Linked DNA regions of Homo sapiens: region 1 is linked to region 2. The links are contacts of gene promoters, found by promoter capture Hi-C in blood cells and fetal thymus (Javierre and others, 2016). All regions are on one chromosome and are shown on one strand. The core of a region is centred on a gene start or on the middle of the fragment in contact, and the rest is flanking DNA. Distances in the headings are between cores, read along the strand shown. Region 1 holds the start of TALDO1 (transaldolase 1). Region 2 holds the start of MIR210HG (MIR210 host gene).

Region 1 (5,077 bases), core at 108-2,607, 180 kb after region 2:
GGATTTGCCTTTTAAGAAGTCTTTTCCGCCGGGCGCGGTGGCTCACGCCTGGAATCCCAGCACTTTGGGAGACTGAGGTGGGCGGATCACGAGGTCAGGAGATCGAGACCATGCTGGCCAACATGATGAAACCCCGTCTGTACTAAAAATACAAAAATTAGCCGGGCGTGGTGGTGAGCGCCTGTAATTCCAGCTACTCGGGAGGCTGAGGCAGGAAAATCGCTCGAACCCGGGAGGCGGAGGTTGTAGTTAGCCAAGATCGCGCCACTGCACTCCAGCCTGGGCAACAAGGGCGAGATTCCGTCTCAAAAAAAAAAAAAAGTCTTTTCAGGTTTTTGCATTTCTGACAACCGGATGGCCCCACCTGGACCTGCCAACCAGTTGTGTGGCCTCTACCCAGGGACTGACTCAGCATAAGCGGACAGCTTCGACTCCCTGTGATTTCATCCCTAGCTGACCAGTCAGCACTTCTGACTCACTGGCCCCCTACCCACCAAATTATTCTTAAATACTGGGATCCCCGAGTTTTGGGGAGACTGATTTGAGGAATAAAACTCTGGTCTCCCGAACAATCGGCTCTGTGTGAATTATGCTTTCTCTATTGCAATTCCCCTGTCTTGACAATAGACTCTGTCCCGGCAGCTGGCAAGGCGAACCCATGGGGCGGTTACAGTGTCTGCAACGCAGACACAAGCGACAGAGACTTGATCAGAATATACAAGGAACTCTGCAAGTCAGCGATGGTAAGAAGCAGGGCAGCTGGGCCTCCTACGCCTGCCTCGCCGTTCGGTCCCCCGGACACCTCTGGGCTTAGGACTCAGGGGAACAGATTCCCAGAAGCAGGTTCCCCGCCGCGTCCGGCGCCCGGGCTCTGCAGCCGCCCCCTGCTCTGCCTCCTGCACCCGCAGGGCGTCCCCCGCCGCTCCCTCCCCTGCTTCCTGCAGCGGCCCCCGACCCCAGTCCTGGCCCCACCATGGATCCTGCATCGCCGGGTTCGGCCCTGGCGGGTTCAGCCCCGCAGAGTCGGCACCCGGGCCAGGTCCATCTCCTCCAGCCCTCCCGGTGCGTCCCGCGGGGCAGGAAGGAGGCGAGGCCCAGCCGCCCCGTGTCGTGCAGGTGTTTTCCCGGGCCCGTCCGCGGCGGCTGCTGAGGACCTGGGGAGACCCAGCCTGTAGGATCCGCAGCTGCGGTGCGCGGCCGGCAGTGGCGCTCGGGCTTCGTCCCCGGGGGCGGGGCTTCGTCCAGGCGCGCAGGGACCAGCGGGCCTCGCCCTCCCGCGCCGCTTTCCGATTGGCAGCCGCCCGCGGGGCATTGTGGGCCGTCCGCGCGCCCGTCCCGTCGCCGCCGCCGCCGCCGCAGACCCCTCGGTCTTGCTATGTCGAGCTCACCCGTGAAGCGTCAGAGGATGGAGTCCGCGCTGGACCAGCTCAAGCAGTTCACCACCGTGGTGGCCGACACGGGCGACTTCCACGGTGAGGACGGCGCGGAGCCCGGGCGCGGCGCAAGCGCCCTCCAGAGGCCCCGGCGCCCCGATTTCCCCGGGTCTCCCGTTCCGGGACGCGGACCGGGTGGCGGTGCCCCGGGCGGCTCGTTCCGGGAGGAATGAGCGCAGGTGCCGGATGTTGGGGCCAGGGACAGCCGTGAGGGGAGCGGGGCCCGGGTCGGCCGTGAGAGGCGCAGGGCCAGCGGCGACCGTGAGGGGAACGGGGCCCGGGTCGGCCGTGAGGGAGCAGGGCCGGGGGCAGCCGTGAGGAGCTGGGGTCAGCCGTGAGGGGCTCGGTGCTGGGGTCAGCGGTGCGGGCGGTACTGACGGGTCCTTGCGAGCCGTGGGGCACGAAGCCGGAGCCCCAGCCTCGCCCTCCGCCCAGGGTGGGGTCGGCTGCGCCCTCAGACCCCGCACCCGGGACGGGCTGTGGGCAGCCCGCGGGAGCCCCTCTGTGCACCTTCATGGGTCGAGGCAGCTTTCAGAGCCTTTGAGTTCAGGAGAGATTCAGGGTAGAGCTTCGAGCTGACTTCCACGTGGCCAGTTTGTGGTCAGCGAGATGCAATTTTGTTGGGCTGATGTCTGCAGAGCGGGGACATCAGCTAGCTCTGACCAGAAGCTGCCAGTGCTGCCATCGCCCTTGAGCCCTGCGGTGCCCAGTGGGACAACTCCGTGGGCGGCAGGTGCCCGGCCTGCTGGACAGCCACCGCCAGACGCACCGGGTGGGTAAAAGCCGGTGCCCATGAAAGCACAGGGTTGGTACACTGTTAAATACTGGATTTTCCTGGGCTTGAGTTGTTTACATTGGAGAGAACTTGGAAAATACAAAGAAGGATTATTTATTAATACTTAGCTCTTCTGTCCTCTGCAGTGCAGAGTAGACGAGCCTTGTGTCTATGTTTTGTTGAGAACAAGTAATATTTTTTAAGAAAATCATGAAACGCTTCATGGATGAATGCTGCGAGCACCTAATACGGAAGTGACTTCCTCTCTTTTCTGCTTTCTCATGGTGACTTGAGAAACAGGCTTTAATTCCTCTTTGGTAACTGAGTAAGGGCATTGTTTATCTAGCAGAGCCTAGAGAGTGAATTGGCATGTTTGGCTGCTTAACCATAAAATATGGGGATTCAGTGACTGGCTTGGGGTGCCACAGTCTGCTCCGGACCCCTCTTTGGGAGATCCAAAGCTAGAGCTGTGAATCCCTCACACACACAGCCCCCCCGTTGTAGTCCAGACCTCTCTTCATAAGAAAGAAAGCTCCAGAAAAGGGGCTACACATTTTTCTGCTGCTCAGTTTTTTCCCTTCTTAGCACTGAGAATAATTTGCAGTTTGCCTGGTGGACAGAGCGCTCATCTGTATTGTTCCTTACTGGCCCTCACCAGTTAGGGCAGAGCTGGTGCGGAGTGTCAGGTCCATTACACTTGGCAGTGCAGGGCCAATAAAGATGGATTTTCCTAAACCCACACCCACAGGAGGGCTGGGGAGTCCTGGGTTTCTGGTTTTGTTTTGTATTGTTTTTTAAGAAAACTTCTGGCCCAGCGAGGTGGCTCACGCCTGTAATCCCAGCACTTTGGGAGGTTGAGGCAGGTGGATCACGAGGTCAGGAGTTCGAGACCAGCCTGACCAACATGGTGAAACCCCGTCTCTACTAAAAATACAAAAATTAGCTGGGTGCGGTGTTGCATGCTTGTAATCCCAGCTACTTGGGAGGCTGAGGCAGGAGAATTGCTGAACCCAGAAGGCGGAGGTTGCAGTGAGCCAAGATCACACCACTGCACTCCAGCCTGGGCGACAGAGCAAAACTCCGTCTCAAAAAAAAAAAAAAAAAAATCTTCTAAACCCAAGTTGTGACATTTTTTTTTAATGAATATTAACAAAAAAATACATTCATTGATAGTATATGTTCATAAATGTTATATAGTTGTAAAATAGTCTGTTGGGTTTGTGATCTGTAGTTTGTGAAGTGAAGGTTCTTAACTCCTTGTGGGAGGGAGGCACAGGCCTCTGGAAATAGAATCAAAGCTGTGAATGCTCTTCCCACAATGTGATCCTCCCCATTTTGCATTCAGTTTAAGGATCCCTGGACCCTGAAACCCATTTTTGCCCCAATGGGCCTTGGTTTTGTTTTAATTTTGTAAAAGCCATTTGCTAAAAGCTGACTTTATCCAGGGGTGATTTTACAGGACGAAATGGGCTGTTTTCAGTGCCTCATTCAGTGCATTCTGGCAGACCTGTGTTAGCACTGTGCCAGATGTCATGTTGAAATGAGTATAGATGCACAACAGGCTTTTTCTTAACTTGTCATGTTGAAATGGGTATAGATGCACAGAAGTTGCAAAATCAGCCCATACAGTCCTGTGAACCCTTCAACCACTGTCCCCCATGGTGACATCTCATGTGACCATGGCATGGCATCCACACCGGGAAGTGGGCACTGCTGTGGTGCTGATGCTGTTATAGACTGCAGGCCTGGCTCAGGGCTCCCCAGTTTCCCCCTGCACTGGGGCAAGGAGGCTATGTGACAGTTTCATAAAGTGTGTAAATTCCTGGACCACTGTGACAGGACATAGCTGTCCCATTGTCACTGAGATCCCCGTGTCCCTCAGAGACCCCTCATTCCCTGTTCCTTGGCAACCTCTAACCTGTTCTCTACCTCTATAGTTTTGTCATTAAAGGACCCTTTGAAAGTACTTATTCCAGCCTGCGCAACATGGTAAAACCCCATCTCTACAAAAAGGAAGAAAAAAAAATAGCCAGGCGTATTGGTGCACACCGTAGTCCTAGCTACTCAGGAGGCTGAGTTGGGAGGATCACTTAAGCCCAGGAGGTTGAGGCAGCAGTGAGCTGTGACTGCGCCACTGCACTCCAGCTTAGGAGACAAAGTGAGACCCTGTCTCAAAAAAAAAAAAAGATATTTATTTGCCAAATAAAGTTACTGAACTTGTGAACTTCGGCCGGGTGTGGTGGCTCAAGCCTGTAATCCGAGCACTTTGGGAGGCCGAGGCAGGCCGATCATGAGGTCAGGAGATCCAGACCATCCTGGCTAACACGGTGAAACCCCATCTCTACTAAAAATACAAAAAAATTATCTGGGCGTGGTGGCGGGCGCCTGTAGTCCCAGCTACTCGGGAGGCTGAGGCAGGAGAATGGTGCGAACCTGGGAGGCGGAGCTTGCAATGAGCCGAGATCGCGCCACTGCACTCCAGCCTGGGCGACAGAGCGAGACTCTGTCTCAAAAGAAAAAAAAAAAAGTTACTGAACTGGCTAATCTGGAGCAATGGGCCATTCTATGGGTGTCAATGGCCATAACTCTTCACCTCCACTTTCCATTTGGACAGCCAGATGAACAAGACCCCAGGTTAAGCCTCGTTGGCTTCTTTGAATTCCTAGCTTGGTTATGTGAGAAATAACTAATGTGTTAAAAGAAACAATAGTTTTAAGAATAAAGAATCCTTGGGTTTTTGTTTTTGGGGTTTTTTTTGAGACAGGGTCTTGCTCTGTCACCCAGGCTGTATAGTGGTGCAATCACGTGGTGCAACACGGCTAACTGCAGCCTTGACCTCCTGGGCTGAGGTGATCCCCCCACCTCAGCC
Region 2 (5,313 bases), core at 1,822-4,321:
CCCAGCACTTTGGGAGGCCGAGGCGGGCAGATCACAAGGTCAGGAGATCAAGACCATCCTGGCTAACGTGGTGAAACCCCGTCTCTACTAAAAATACCAAAATTAGCCAGGCGTGTTGGCGGGCGCCTGTAGTCCCAGCTACTCGGGAGGCTGAGGCAGGAGACGAGCGTGAACCCAGGAGGCGGAGCTTGCAGTGAGCCGAGATTGGGCCACTAACTCCAGCCTGGGCGACAGATCGAGACTCTGTCTCAAAATAACAACAAAAAACAACTCACAATGTTTAAGAAAATTTATAGATTTGTGTTGGGCTGCATTCAAAGCTGTTCCATGGGCCAACAGTTGGACAAGTTTGCCCTAGATCATGGGGTCTTTGTGCTCTGAGAATGGGCGAGTTTGGGATGGACTCAGCTTTCTGTTGGTTGGCCCTGGATCTGGATCTGGTGCTGCCCCCTTTCTCTGGAGCACACAAAGGGAACAAGAAGGCCTGGACTTGGGCAAGGAAGCCATCCACAGGGCTCCCCAGAAGCCAGGGCCACCAGGAGCTCACTGCTGTGCAGAGGCAACTCGGCTTGGTTATTTCTTGCCTGAGGCAGGGAACAGGGAATGCAGGGAAGCCAGGCAGCAGCAGGAGGCTCCAAACGCTGGTGTCAGCAAGCCAGAACCCCCACCTGACTTCACTCCTGTCTGCCCAGCTCACAGTCGCCTGTCACTGGGAGGTCCTTGGGGCCTGGACCTGCCTGACCTGTGGCCCCAGAAGGGGCTAAGCCCAGAGTCACATGGGATGGAGCCTGGAATGCATAGGCCAAGTGGGTTGTGCCTGGGCAGCAGGCCTGGGATATGAGGGGCCTACTCCTCCATCCACAGCCCCGACCCACATTCTGGAGGGATGGTCGTACCTCTGTGACCAGCCCTCCACACCGTCACATAGGCCAGCAGGGGGCAATGCCAGGTGCCATCCAGAGCCCACCCCCATGTCCTCCCGGAGGTCATGAGCTCTGCCCTACGTACCCCAGCCCCACAATGGGAAGGAGGCATGGAGCTGGCAGAGCATGCGCCACGCCGTCCCTGTGTGTGTTTCTGAGGAACTCCTGTTCACTCTGAGGCCACTGCCTAGGTGCCCGTCCCTGGTCTGCTGCTGCTGGCTCTGATGAAGCTAACCAGCCTTCTTCCCCACCAAGAGGGTGTCCCAGCAGCAGCTATGGCTATGTTCCGGCGGGGGGAAGGCGGGGAGCCTTCCTCCTCACTGGCTGTTTCATTTTTTTATTTTTTTGAGGCAGAGTCTCTCGTCACCCAGGCTGGAGTGCAGCGGCGTAATCTCGTCTCGCTGCAACCTCCACCTCCCAGGTTCAAGCGATTCTCTTGCCTCAGCCTTCCAAGTAGCTGGGATTACAGGTGCCCACCACCATGCCTAGCTAATTTTTGTATTTTTAGTAGAGACGAGGTTTCACCATGTTGCCCAGGCTGGTCTTGAACTCCTGATCTCAAGTGAGCGATCACCCGCGTCTGCCTCCTGAAGTGTTGGGATTACGGGTGTGAGCCACCACACCCGGCCTCTCACTGGCTGTTTCAGGTGAACCAAATCCCATGGCCCCAAAAAGTGGCCAGAGTGCTTCAGATCACTCAGCAAACCTTTGAGTTGCTGAAAAGTTTACTTTTGAGTTTTAAACTGTACTTTGAAAACTATATTGTGAACTGTGTTGACATGAGGAAAGGCTGGGCTCCCTGAAAACATCCAGTTCCACAGCAGGGCGGGCCCAAGCCCAGCCAATCCCCAGGCAATGCAGGGCAGGGATCCCACCTGGTGTAAGTACGGGCAGAGGGCAGAGCCAGGCTGTATCGAGGGGCGGCGCTGGGACCCTCCTCGCCCAGAGTTCCTACTCATCCCCAGCACAGAAGTGCTCTGTAGGGCCAGCTGAGGACACCCCGGTTCACTGAGGGTGGCCCACAGTAAGTCGCCGTCTGGCAGTAAGTTAGCTCTGCAGGTGTGGACCCCAAGACCACACACAGCCTTTCTCAGGTGCAGGTCCTGCCAAGCCTCACTTCGCAGTGGTGACAGGCAACCCCGTCAGGGCAGGGAGCTTCCAAAGGCCAGTCCGAGTCCATGCCAGGCGTCCACTAAATCTGCCTCTCCCTCTCCAGCGAGCAGGTGCAGCCCTCAACTCCTGCAGGCCTGGGGAGCGGAGACAGGGCCTGTAGGCTCGGACACGACCCGGTCCTGATTTTAACAGTAGACTTGAGAAGGCAGGCTCAGCAGACAGGCTGCTGGAGGATCCACCCGCTGTCTCCCGCAGCGGCCCCACTGAAGCGGCAGAAACACACAGAAGCACCAAATCTGTCACTCTCTTCCCGTAGGAAGTCCCCAGAGGTGGCCCTCCGGAGGATGGTCCTGTTGGCTGAAGATATGACCACACCTGTGCCTGCCCAGGGCCACCTTCAGCTTGGCAACAGGAACTCCGCACACTGGTACCCTGGACACACAAGGAAAAGAAAGTTCCCTCCAAGAGGGTATCTGGCCCAGCCTCAGCCCCACCAAGCGGAGGGCAGCAAAGCCCCCGAATGATTTCGCTTACCCCCACCCGCCGTCCCTGCTGGCCAGACAGGCACACCCCGTCCATAGGGCACCCCCTCCCCACGGTATCCAGCTGCCCTCGCGTCCCCGTGTGGCCGCTCGCCTGCCCGCCAGACCCGGACACGGGGCCAGGAGGGTCGCGCTGCCCAGGCACAGATCAGCCGCTGTCACACGCACAGTGGGTCTGGGGCAGCGCAGTGTGCGGTGGGCAGGGGCTGCCCTGCGCCTGGAGGCACTGCCGGGTGGGCGGGCGGAGGGATTGACCCCACCCCCGTCCCCTCCAACTTGGGCGTCCGAGCCCCGCCGCGCCTGCCCAGCCCGACCCCCCGCAGCCCCCGCGGGAGGGCGGCCTCTGAGGGGCGCCCCGCCCGCCAACCTGGGATCCCTCGCGCGTCACCTGCGACCCCGGCGCGGGGCCGTCGCCGGCTCTCGGCCCAACTTCAGCTGCGGCCGCTGGCACCCTCTCGCCCCCCGGCCCGACCCGACCGGCCCCGGGCCCCGCGGCTCCACGCCCAGCCCCGTATGCAAATGACCTGGTCCCTCAGCCAATGGCCGGCCTAGCCGGGCCCGCCCTACCGCAACGCAGCCAGTGGGCGCGAGGGGGGTTCGCGACGCCCCGCCCACCGCCGCGCGGCCCTTCGCGGGCGAGGCCGGCGCGTTCTTTTCTGCACGTCTGCCCGGGGAGGGGCGGCACCTGCCGGGCGGGGCCTGCGGGGCGCCAGCTGCGAGGGCGCGGCGGGGCCAGGGCGCGTCCCCCGGCCGGGCGGATGGTACGGCCCGAGGTGGTCCTCCTCCCGCCGCGCGGTGGTATGGCCCGGGCTCGCGGGGCTTCCGGGCTGGGCGTGGGGCGCAGCCTGGCGACGGGTCCTCCGCCCGCGGGTGTGCGTGGGGCGGCAGGGCCGGCCGGGAGCTGCCCCTCTTCCCGCGGCGCGGTGGTACGACCCGGCCGCCTCCGTGCCCCGCACCCGCGTCCCGCGGGCCCGCCCCCCCCAACCCGCTGGGCGCCCGGCGCACGTATCCCGGGCCGTGACCCGGGTGGGGCCTGCGCGGGCCCGGACACGGCGTCCTCGGGACGCACGCACCACCCCCCGGGCGGCTTGGGGTCCCCAAAGGACGCCCGGGTCCGTCCTGCTGGCGAAGAGGGGGCTCTGGCTCTGCCTGGTTTGCCTGGCGACCCCCACGGGGCGCCCTTGGGGGCTCTGGGTCCCTCCTGCGCGCTCTGTCTCCGCGGAAGCCTCTGGAGCCTGGAGGGGGTGCCTCAAGGGCTCAGGGGTCTTCGCAGCCCTGTGCCGGTCTTTGAGGGGACGAGGCGAGAGAATCCTGTCTGTGCGCTGAAAACGTGTAAAATCAAAGGAGCCTTGACGGTTTGACCTTCGTTAGGACTCGCAGGGCCAGCTTCAGACGTGGAAGTATCGGACTCCGGGGTGGGGCTCCAAAGTGGCAGCCAAAGGAGATTTGGCCGCCGGCCCCCCTTGGCACTGTCACCCTGGTCCTCGGCCCCGGGCCGTCTCCCCTCAGCTCCCTGGCCCTAAACTCACCGCCCTGCTCTTTGTCCTCCCCTGGCCCCATGACCTCCCTGCCTCGGCATCCGCGCAGGCCTGGGCCGCAGCCTGCCCCCTGCCCCAGCCCCGGCGGCAAAGTGCTGGGGCCCCAGGGAGCTTCCGAACCAGCCCATGTCCTCAGGGGCTTGAAGGCTGGGGACAAAAATTCAGATGCAGAGTCTGGGGTGACTCAGACATGATCAGCAAGACATGACCGAGGTCTTGCTGACCCCTTGACCCTTGGCCCCCGATAGAACCGAGTGGCTCCTTGCACCTGTGGCTGCCTGTGGATGGGGAAGGTGCCCAGAGGATCACGGAGCCACTCGGTTCTATTGGGGGTCAGGGGTCAGCAAGACCTCGATCCTGTGGGTCGTGAAGGAGCCTCTAAGAGTCAGTGGGGTCCCTGAGAAGGCCCACGTCTTCATGGCAGGGCAGAGGCTCCTAGGGCAGTCAGACTAGGGGACAAGAAGGGGCAAGAGGACAGGGCAGCTCTGTGTTCCTGTCGTGCCCTGCTGACGTGAACCCACTTCTGCCCCCAGTCCTGCCAATTTCACAGGCACCTTTTCTCAGCATCTGTAGTGAGTGGGATGGTCCCTCCGCCAAAAAGAAGATATATCCACATCCTAATACCCAGGCTTCCTAAATGTGCCCTCATCGGGAGAAAGCATCTTTGCAGATGTCATTAAGGGAAACATCTTGAAACGAGATCATCCTGGACTTTCTGGGTGGGCCCTAAATCCAATGATCAGTGTCCTTATAAAAGACAGGGAAAACAGGCCGGGTGTGGTGGCTCAAGCCTGTAATCCCAGCACTCTGGGAGGCCGAGGTGGGCAGATCACCTGAGGCCAGGAGTTTGAGGCCAGCCTGGCCAACATAGTGAAACCCCATCTCTACTAAAAATACAAAAAAATCAGCCGGGCATGGTAGTGTGAGCTTGTAATCCCAGCTACTTGGGAGGCTGAGGCAGGAGAATCGCTTGAACCTGGGAGGTTGGCAGTGAGCTGAGATCACGCCACTGCACTCCAGCATGGGCAACAGAGTACGACTCTGTCTCAAACAGACAAACAAAAAACACAAAAAAAGAGAGAAGGCCGGGCGCGGTGGCTCATGCCTGTAATCCCAGCACTTTGGGAGGCCGAGGAGGGTGGATCACCTGAGATCAGGAGTTCGAGACCAGCCTGATCAACATGGAGAAACCCCGTC

Evidence for each region. Contacts are between HindIII fragments. The CHiCAGO score rates a contact against its expected background, and 5 or more counts as called.
Region 1: the fragment with the promoter of TALDO1 here is called in contact with the fragment with the promoter of MIR210HG in region 2 in 1 of 17 cell types (naive CD8 T cells); the score reaches 5.3 in naive CD8 T cells.

What each region holds. Positions count from the first base shown.
Region 1 is chr11:746,107-751,183 of GRCh38, forward strand. TALDO1 (transaldolase 1) reads left to right here and starts at 1,358. Exons shown (of 8, transcript NM_006755.2): 1 at 1,358-1,472. The coding sequence starts at 1,376. It overlaps LOC105376509 (a long non-coding RNA gene), which reads left to right. Exons shown (of 3, transcript XR_930962.3): 3 at 643-856. RefSeq lists enhancers at 342-990, 629-688, 991-1,639 and silencers at 819-1,418, 1,479-1,768, 1,869-1,958. The HindIII fragment of the contact is 13,110 bases long and covers 1-5,077 here.
Region 2 is chr11:565,386-570,698 of GRCh38, forward strand. It overlaps MIR210HG (MIR210 host gene), which reads right to left and starts at 3,072. Exons shown (of 2, transcript NR_038262.1): 1 at 2,967-3,072; 2 at 272-2,468. MIR210 (microRNA 210) reads right to left here and starts at 2,813; the gene lies at 2,704-2,813. RefSeq lists enhancers at 309-863, 864-1,418, 4,004-4,754. The HindIII fragment of the contact is 23,407 bases long and covers 1-5,313 here.